Regions from separate parts of the Homo sapiens genome. Here region 1 is linked to region 2. The links are contacts of gene promoters, found by promoter capture Hi-C in blood cells and fetal thymus (Javierre and others, 2016). All regions are on one chromosome and are shown on one strand. Each heading gives the region's core, a stretch centred on a gene start or on the middle of the fragment in contact. The rest is flanking DNA. Distances are from core to core; before and after follow the strand shown. Region 1 holds the start of PPP2R3A (protein phosphatase 2 regulatory subunit B''alpha). Region 2 holds the start of NMNAT3 (nicotinamide nucleotide adenylyltransferase 3).

Region 1 (4,936 bases), core at 1,870-4,369, 3.7 Mb after region 2:
TTAAGAAAACAGAGTGTACAGTATGCTACCATTTGTGTAAAACAGTAAGAGGAAAGATATGCATTTCCTTGAATGCCCACAAAAAATGTCTACAATGATATACAAAACTAGTATCAGTGGTTATTCCTTTGGAAGACAGGGAAAATGGTAGCTGGGGGAGGGAGCAGAACCCACCAAAAATGCTCTGATTTGCTTGGAGGAGGGCCCAGGCGTCGGTCTTAAGTTCTGGTGGTTCTGATGAGAGTGTTGGACTGAGAACCACTGCTTAGTGGACAGCCTTTGCCTATTTTCCTAGCTTCATTTTGTGTCATCACTCTCCGTGTTCCTGGCTTCTGGGTTCCCAAAAGCGGCCCTGTTCCTTTCTTCCTCAAGGTATTCACATCTGTTCCTTCTGCCCGGAATATTGTTCCCGTGAGCTTCACCTAGTAACTCCTGTTAATCCTTCACCGTCCACCTCAAAGGTCACTTCCCCATGGAAACTTTCCCCAGTTTCCAAACTACATCAGGACATCTGTTTTATGCACTCAGAGCTGCCTGTACTTCTCCCAGAAATTAACACAATCGTAATGAGATAAATGTATATTTATGCATGTATACATCTGTCACCCTCCTTAGACTATAAGGTCCAGGCATGCAAAGTTGTTTTTACTAATCTATTTCCATACCTAATCTAGTGTCCAGTTGGCAAAACAGGCCTTCAGAAATCTGTTAAATAAATAACTGTTCCCGCCCTCAAGCTTAGTATAGTAAACACCTAAGCAAATGAGGACAATGCTGCGTCACTAGTGTTAAGGCAGCAGTCTGCTCACAACAGTGGTTCTTAACTAAGGGTGATTTTGGTCCTCCTGGGGGACATTTGCGATGTCTGTAAGCATTTTTGATGTTCACAACTGTGTGTGTGGAGTGCTACTGGTATCTATTCCTCAGTAAAGGTTAGAAATGCTGCTAAACATCCTACGCTGCACATGATAGCCCTCCACAACTAGAAATTACCTGGCCTAAAATGTCAACAGAACTACAAATGAGAAACTCTGACTCAGAGGACGATAACACTCAAAAGAGCTGTCAATTGCACTTCTGAGGGTGGTGATTTTTAAATATCTGTTTTCTTTTTGGGGGATGGGGGGTGTCAAGCAAAGCTTCAGGGCAGAGGTGAAGCTTCAGCTGTGTGTTTGAAAGGTAACAGGGGCCAGATCAGTGGGGACTATGTTTGTCAGGAGCAAGGAGGAGTCTCTGAAGAGTTTAAAAGCAAAGTTATGATTTGAACAGGTGCCCCCAAGTACCCTATACTCCAAAATTATTCATTTCCTTTTTTCCTTTCTCGCTGAAACAAAACTTCCATTCTCTCAGAGTAGCTGGTTTCAGCTGAACATTAAGGCCAAATTAATTCAGCCCAAGATAAAGTCAGATAGGCCCTTCACTCTCCAGAATGTTAAGCTACATTTTAAAATATGCAAATACTTATGAGTACAAATAAATCTTTAACTGCTCAATGTTCAGGTTGTCAGTGCATAAAGCTATTTTTGAACTCAACAGCCAGATTGGCCCCAGTAACACTTTCCCAAAGCTTTGTTTTTTAAAAACCTTTTTGATCTGTTTCCCCGTTCTCCTAGAAATCTCCTAGATTTCTGAGCTCCTAGATTGTATAAAAGATCTAAGTTTTTTTCCACAAGTATCTCATGCCATTAAGTTCTTCTGCCAGAGGTGATAAAAGGGCCATTTGGATGCAATAAATGTAAATAAATTGTGTGTGTAAATTAGCAGTGGCTTAGAAAATTTTTAAAAGGCTTTCATGGACTACTGAAAGAAACTGAGATAATTTTTAACATACCACCAAGAAAAAAAAACAACAGTTTTACTACAACACAAGCCGGCTGCCTACTGAACTGGACGCCCATGCTCTGACCTAGTATGGCAATTCTTAGGGTCTAGGCGCTGGGTTCTGTTTACAAGAAACTAAGGCCTGAGACTAAGGAAGAACAAAGAAAAATGCCTGGCACCAAAGGTGTGGGGGATGTTTTGTACATAAATGAAGATTTGAGGAGGAATACTTCCTCAGATGTTGGAAGGAATTACTCTTTTTTTGCTTACGTGTTAAGAATTTAATGTTTTCAGGCCATTTCCTAATTAGAAAATACCTTATAATTTACAAACAATAATTTGTCTTCCCCTACATTTGCTGACCACCAAGACTGGATAAAATTTCCTTAAGCTTTACCAGAGTGGGAGGACTGGGAATAACGGGAGCACAACAGAGTTCGGATGCAACATCAACTCCAAGCCCGGCCAGCTGGTTTCCATCGAGAGGTCCCCCAGGAGAACGCCCCTCCGCGGCGGCGGCGGCCAGGTCGGCGCGGGAGAGACCCACCGAGGCGCTCCAGCGCGGCCGCGGTGCAGGACCAGGGGCCGCCCGGCCTCCGTTTACCTTTGTTTCAGGTACCCCGGCTCCTGGCGGGCCGGGAATCCCGTCCGCGGCCCGGAGCTGGTGACACATCCTTCTTTGGCCAAGTCGGGCCGAGGTTGGGCAGGGGGCGGGGAAGGAAAAGAAAGCCTCAGCGCCTAACGACGTGACTCTCAGTTCTTCCAAAACGCTGGCATTTGTTTCTCTGCCAGGCTTTCCTGTTAACAAGTTCCCGAGGGCTGTGCGGGCGAACTGGCCCAGGAGCCCTGAAAAGTGGGAGGGCCCAGGCCGCCCCCGCCTACCCTCCTCCGCGGGCGCCCCTGGGGCAGGCAATTTCCACACCTCCCTGGTGCCGTGTCCCGGGACCGGCCGGCCGCGCCGAGGCAACGCACCGCACCGCACCGCACCGACTGGAATTCCGACTTCCACAGCCCAATCAGCTCCGTGTGGCCCCTCTGGCCAGGCCGGTCCCCGCCCCCAGGTCCCGGCCCCGCCCGCCCCGGCCTCCGCGCGCCGCCCCGAGCCTCGCCACCCCCTCGGGCCGGGACGAGGGAGCTGAAGGCTCCAGGCCGTGCGGCCAGTGTTCCTTTGCCTACCTCGTTGCCCGCGGCTCCTCCTCCGGCGGCTCAGCTCGCGGGCAGCGCTTGCCTCCAAGCCTCCCCGCGGCGCGGACTCTCGGGCTACGAATGCGGCGCGTGAAGAGCGGAGGCCCGAGCGCGCCCCGCCCAGCCACCCGCAGGCCCCTACCTCCTTCTCCTCCTCCTCCTCCTCCTCCTCGGCCCCACCCTCGGCGGCCGGCCCGCCCGGAGCCCCGCCCACGCGCCAGGCCCCGCCCACTCTCCGGCCCCGCCCCCAGCCTACGCCCCGCCCCTCTGGCCAAGGCAGGAAGGGGGCCTCCAGGGGCGCCGCGAGAGCCGCTGTGGCCTCGGCGAGGGCAGTCTCCTGTATGGCGGCGCCGCGGGGATGCGATTCGTGGTGGTCGCTGCTGTTTGACAGATTCGAGTCTCTTGCTCGGATTTATTACTGTTATTGTCATCGTCAATATTGTCATCGTTGTTATTGTTATCGTCATTAGTTGTGTTGCCCTCTTCAAGGGGCCTTCAAGGAGGCCCCTTGAGGGCAGCGCGCTGCTGGCCAGACATTCCCTGGCGCTCCTGTCTTCCCACAGTCCTGCACCTGCGCCACATTTCACTCAGCCCAAGAAGTTGTGTGAATTTTAAAAGAAGTGATACTTATTTTTAACTGTTATTGTTAACTGTTACTGTTAAATAAAACACAAATATAGACAGCCATATAAAACCAATGTACAGCTTAATGGATTATTCCGATACACACACCCTTATAACCACTCGCCAGATTTATTAATAACACCGTGTAATATGGTCTGCTCTGAAACAGAACCTCATTAATAGCTGGAAGGACATAGCCTGGAAGGGCCTCCCAAAATTGCCCTCCTTCTAACTGCCACAGTACTCAAATGTGACAGGTCCATAATCATGCCCTCTCCAAGAATATATTTGTAAAATGGAAATTTCTCCAGAATTAGGAACCTCCAATTGAGTATCTTCGTAAAAATCTTGATAAAATGATAAATCTATAAATATATAAGCATATAAATAACAATAAATAAGTCAATCAGTTGGGTTGAATACCATGAGTAAGGAGCATGGGGGTGGGGGATGGGAGGTATGTAAAGACTTAAAAGGATTAGGTGGGCTGTGAGGACAGGTCCTGGGCACCTGGGTTGTTCTCACTGTCTCCCCAGCACCTAGCATAGCACCAAGCATATACTAGGTGCCATATGTGTGTGTGTATATATGTGCATTGTACATATATGCACATATATGTGTGTGTGTGTGTATAGCACAAGGAAAGAAAAAATTATGTAAGATAACCCCAAACAAGCTTTACATACTGAAATTTCACCCAAGGTCAATCCTCCCAGTAGCTAAAGTGTGCTCTGTGAGATGCCTTGATGCCCTAGAGAGAAAGAGACCATTTTACTTTCAACTTTCTACTGCTTTTCCATTTCAAAAGCCCTTTCACATGCATATGGTATCTTATTTGAGACTGAGAGCAACTCTGTGAAAAATGCAGGGCAGGATAGGACTCTGCAAAGGTCACAGTGCAATGCATATCAGTAAGAAGGAAAAGTACACAATGTACCATAAAACAATGTTAAAACTGCTGACCCTGGCAACCTGGATTCTTGGTTTGTCTCAACAGTTTTATTGCCAATGTTTTTACATTAGGGCTCCTTTGGCCCTTTTGCCATGCATTTATACACATTATAACTTGAATGTATAAAGGACACAATACGTGACTGGAAATTTGATTCAATACAATAGAGTTAGTCTCTCTGTCATGAGGACCATGGTGAATTGGGGCTAGAGAGTTGCCAATTCACCACAATGTATTGAGTACTCAGACTGTACTAGGTGGTAGGAATACAAATGATATAAAATAAAGAAGATACAGGGGCTGGGCGTGGTGGCTCACGCTTGAAATCCCAGCACTTTGGGAGGCCAAGGAGGG
Region 2 (5,056 bases), core at 876-3,375:
CAGCCATTGCGTCTTCACCGCTTAGGTTAGGTAAAGCTTGGCTATTATATGAGGTTCTTACCTTCCAGCACAAGGGGACGCTACTTTTTTAAAAAAATATTTTTATTTCCATAGGTTATTAGGGAACTGGTGGTATTTGGTTACATGAGTAAGTTCCTTAGAGGAGATTTGTAAGATTTTGGTATACCCATCACCCGAGCAGTATACACTGAACCCAATTTGTAGTCTTTTATCTCTCACTCCCTTCCCATTCTTCCCCTCTGAGTCCCCAAAGTCCACTGTGTCATTCTTATGTCTTTGCATCCTCATAGCATAGCTCCCACTTATGAGAATATACCATGTTTGGTTTTCCATTCCCGAGTTACTTCACTTAGAATAACACTCTCCAATCTCATCCAGTTGCTGTGAATGCCATTAATTCATTCCTTTTTTCTTGCCTAGGAAACCAGGCTTCCTCCTAGACCAAGCTTTAGTCTTCACTACCTCAGGCAGAGAAAGCTTCCCTTGCATGAGGAAGTCATTGCCCAGCCTCTTCTCTGCTCTCTGTGTGCAGCTTCTCCCTCCCTGGCCTAGGGCCCTGACCCAGAATGACTCTTCAGCCCACGATTTTAATCGAAGGCCTCTAATCAACCTGTGGTACTACATGCTACACAAGATTCTCAGAAATCCCTAAGCTTTCTCATGAGCCTCCCACCCTGCTGGGAAATAAGCTGACTTATCAATTAAAGAATATCCAAAGATGTTAAGCCACTTAATCCTCCCCAAAACTCAGTGCGGTAGGGGTTGTTACCTCCCATTATACGAAAGGAAAGTGAGGCTTGGGAAGTAAAGAGACTTGTCCAAGATCACCTTCTGGAGCCACATTTTACACCACAGGTAAGAGAAAAGGGATCCGAGAGGGCACGGACACTGTGTCTTCAGACTGAGTGGGGAAGTACCATTTACCTGGGTACTTATTGGGTGCAAGTTGCATGCCCCCGGTGCTAATACACAAGGGACAAATTTATGGGCCTCCTAAAACTGTGGACAGTGCACCCGTCCAGCCAACTTCATGGGTGCACCGTGAGGCTCTGGTGATGTGGACAGGCTTATAAAACACTCTCCATACTAAGATGAGGTTGTGTTCCTGTGTCTAGGAAACGCTGGAAATTAAGTGTACAGCAATCAAAAAACCTTGACATCATCCTTGATGTCTCTCTTTTTCGCACACTCCAATTCACTCCATTAGGAAACTGTATTGGCAGAATCTAGTGAATCTTGTCCTTCAAGGCCTCTCTCTGCAAGGCTCCCATGAGCCCTGGGGGCTTATGGAGAGTTCTGGGTGGGCAGAGGAAGCCAGACTGCGTTAGGGAAGCAAATTTGGGACCTAAATTTCCTAAGAAGGTTTTAGGGGATAGGGACCCCAATCTCTAAGACCCCAGGATTCTGTTAAGATTTATTTTCTCATTCCAAATAAATGTTCACTGGCAAGCCCTAATTCTGTCTTCTCTTTCTTAAGCAGCCCTCCCTTCCTTCTCCCCACACAACTGTGTATGCTTCAGGCCCCAGAAATCCTTCCCTGCTTTGAGGTCTGGCGTTTACCAGGGCAGGGCTTGAGAATAGAGGTGTAAATTTGTCAGAAGGAAACAGGGGCCGCGCAGTAAGAGAGTAGATCCTCATATAACATGGCAGAAAGTCAATGGATAAATCAAGAAATCGCTATGTAAGTTTCTTTTTTTATTTTTTTATTTTATTTATTTATTTTTTTTTTGCGACAAGCGGGTGACCACTAGAAGAAATTAACGGAGGAATTGTTAAAAAGAGCTGTGATGGGAGGGAGAAGTGGCCTGTTGCTTTCATTATAAGCAAATCTAGATAATTTTATTTTCTAATAAGTAAGTGGGCGTTACTTTCATGTATTTTTTTAAAAGAAAATTAAATAAAAATACAAAACAAACAGAATACAAAACAGGAGAATAAAAAAGCAAACACGCACGCAACACAAAAGAGCCTTGGCGGTTGGGAGCCAGCGGGCGGGGGCGGGGGCAGGGGAGAGGGCGGGGCTTAGGACCCTGGGCGGGGCCAGGGCCGGGTCTCCTTAGGGCCCGCCCCAGCGAAGGGGCGGGGCGCAGATCTGTTTCCCTCAGACTCCATCTGCCCGGGGCCGCTAAGGGAGCGCAAGGTCAAGTTCGCCTTGGCCCCGCCTCCAGCTCAGGTACTAGGGGATCTAGACCTGAGGCTGCCCGGGCCGGAGGCAGCCTTGAGTCCCGAGACCAAACGTCGTTTCCCTCTCGGACCTCGGGCGCCGGGCCGCGCGCTGACCGACAGCCCCTGCTAGGCCCAGCAGGTCCCCTAGTCCCCCGCAGTCCCCCGAGACTCGCCGAGCGCCGTTGCTGAGCCCTGCAAATAGCAGGTAAGCGCAGCGTGGGCCCCTCGTCAGCCCACTAGGACCTGGATCGCGGCTGAATGCCCGGGCCCACGTGACTCCTGGCCCCTAACTGAGTCCTGGGAGTCCCCGCTGGGGCGACAGGTGGCGGCGGAGTGCGGAGCCATCCGGGGTGGCGCGAACCGGGGGGACAGCTCCGCGCTGCCTCTGCGCGCCGGCGGTTCTCGCTGCAGCGTGTCAACCTAACCCCCAGCTCCCCTTTGGCTATGACCAGAGTCCCGGAGACGTGGGTTCGGATCCCACCTTTAGCACTCGTGCACTCAAAGGTTAAAAATATAAGCACAGTGTCTAACAAATACTTAACGTGTTCCACTCAGTGTCCGCTGCTGGGCTAAGTGCTGGGGTTACAGTAGCAGGCCAAAAAATGTGGTGCCCTCCCCCGTGCAGCTCACAGTCCAGTGGGGGGAGACCGACAGCAAATGGATATCTATGCAAACAAGTGTGAACGTTAAAACTGTGGTCAGAGCTATGAAGATTGAAATTCTAGGGTGCTGGAGAGATTTTATCAGGGCCCCCAGCTACAAAGGCTGCTGGAACTAAAACTTTAGAGAATTCCCGGGCGGGGAACAACAGAGCAAACTCATTTTGTTGGGAGAGAATGTGGCTTGAGGAAAGGAGGGTTGGTGGGGCTGGCCTGCAGAGAGCTGGGGGGAAAGCAAGTTCCTTAACCTTAACGTTCTCCTCTGTAAAATGGGATTGTTCTACCCATTGAGAATGGAAATGGTGAATGTAAATGACTTAGCACTGCGTGATGGGTGCTGGATGTTACTCTGCACTAAACATCCAAGGCTTGATGTTGTTCTGGACTAAACACAGTGTGCCTGCCTCTCAGCAAAGTCACTTCCCCTCTCCTTGAGTCCTGTTTCTTCCTCTATCAAATAAGTGGTTCTGAGTAGAATCTCTCAAACAGCCTGTTCTCTAAAATGATGACTGGTTTAGTTGTTCATTCTTGAAACATTTAACTGGCGCCCACTTTACCCTGGCTCTGAGGATTCAGAGAGAAATCAGACAGGGGCCCTGCCCTCCTGGAGCCCATGTCCGGTGGGCCAGGTGAAATAAAGTGACAGTTCCACCCTGGCACAACCCAGAGAAAGGGTTCTTACCCACTGGCCTTGCAGGGGAAAGCTTCTCTGTTTTTCTCAGAAAGCCACCCAGGAGCCCCTGAAGGTATGGTTCACACAGCTCCACTGAGCATCAGTTACTTCTTGAATTTCATTGGTGGTTCTCAGCTTTTGGTGTCACCTCTTAAAACTGGACAGAAGACTTCCCAGAAGCAGCAACTATGCTGGGACCTTGCTAAGGACGTGTCAGACCTTGAGACCCCATGGATTTGGGAGAGCATTTTAGGTTTCAGGAAACATCTGTCAGCTGCTCACTGTATTTTATTGGCTCAAATGATCCCAATTTCTTATTTGGCTCTGTTCACAACATTGTTGTAGACAAAGAAAGTGCTCCATGAAAACCAACTGAGAGGCCCAGAGAGTAGGGGAACCCAGATGAGGCAGGAGTCTGGCACCATTTGTGGGGAGTGGTAAAAAAGAACAGGTATGATGTTAACAGAGGGTGTTGGAGGGAAGAGGAGAGAGAGCAGCCATTGTGCAGCCTCTCTTTTCCCCTCTCAGACCACTGCAGGATGCCAGCCCATGAGAAGGGAAGCTCCAGGCTTGGTGGTCACAGACCTGGCACTTCTCAGCTCTGTGACTGACCCTGGGCAGCTCACTCACCTTGTGAGTCGTGAGGATTGCTCAGGCTTAACAGGTGCTTAGCATATCGTTGGCCCTGAAGAAATATTAACTCCCACCCTCTCCTTCTCCTGAATGAACTAAAATATACATAGTTGTAGTGTCTACCTCAGAAGGTTATTATGGGGATTTAATGAGGACCTAAAATACATAGAGCAGTACCTGACATGTGGGAGGATACTACTACTATAACTATTGATATCGTTCCTTAGTCTGGACAAAAATTGATGAAACAAGACAGGGCAGAGGCGGGAGAGGGATAGGAGTGGAGGCAGTATGAGGAATTGTGCAGGGTGATTAGTCAGGGGGTTAGATTATCTGTTGCAGTGGTTTTGCCATAAAGCAAGAGCCTGGCAGCAGAGAGGGGTGTTCTGCATGATAAAGGGCCTCCTGGGCAGCTGCACTGTCAGAAAGCCCCAGAAAGCCCCAGTGTCTTTGTAGACTCAGGCCAAAGAAAGCGTAGCAAAAGTTGGAGAAAACTAGGGTTGAAAAGGGTCTAAAATGGTCTTTTTGATGATGTGTCTCTAACTGATGGCTGAGTGGGGGTTCCCTGCAGGGGGCTGCCACTGCACCTTGCAGACCCTTGCCATCCCTTTGAGCATGGTAACTGCCTGAGACCGTTCTGGCTCTTTGACCTGGGAGCTATGGAGTCTAATTTTGCAAACTTCTCACCCAGCAGAGTACCAGGCCAAAAAGGCATGAATCAGTAATGAACAAATAAATGAACATAAACCCAAGAGGCAGATTTTTCATGGTATATGTGCACGTGTGTGTGTGTGTGTGTGTGTGTGTGTATGTTTAAAAGGAATACGAAGGTAAGGAAAGATGACTAATGTATTTAAGCATTTGCTGAGGGCCAAATATTTTCATGTATGTCGCAGCTTAGTGG

Evidence for each region. Contacts are between HindIII fragments. The CHiCAGO score rates a contact against its expected background, and 5 or more counts as called.
Region 1: the fragment with the promoter of PPP2R3A here is called in contact with the fragment with the promoter of NMNAT3 in region 2 in 1 of 17 cell types (fetal thymus); the score reaches 11.4 in fetal thymus.

The regions. Positions count from the first base shown.
Region 1 is chr3:135,963,911-135,968,846 of GRCh38, reverse strand. It overlaps PPP2R3A (protein phosphatase 2 regulatory subunit B''alpha), which reads right to left and starts at 3,119. Exons shown (of 14, transcript NM_002718.5): 1 at 2,998-3,119. RefSeq lists silencers at 2,643-2,922, 3,053-3,282 and an enhancer at 2,727-3,545. The HindIII fragment of the contact is 2,094 bases long and covers 2,215-4,308 here.
Region 2 is chr3:139,675,041-139,680,096 of GRCh38, reverse strand. NMNAT3 (nicotinamide nucleotide adenylyltransferase 3) reads left to right here and starts at 2,125. Exons shown (of 7, transcript NM_001401600.1): 1 at 2,125-2,392. RefSeq lists a silencer at 2,022-2,071. The HindIII fragment of the contact is 2,876 bases long and covers 677-3,552 here.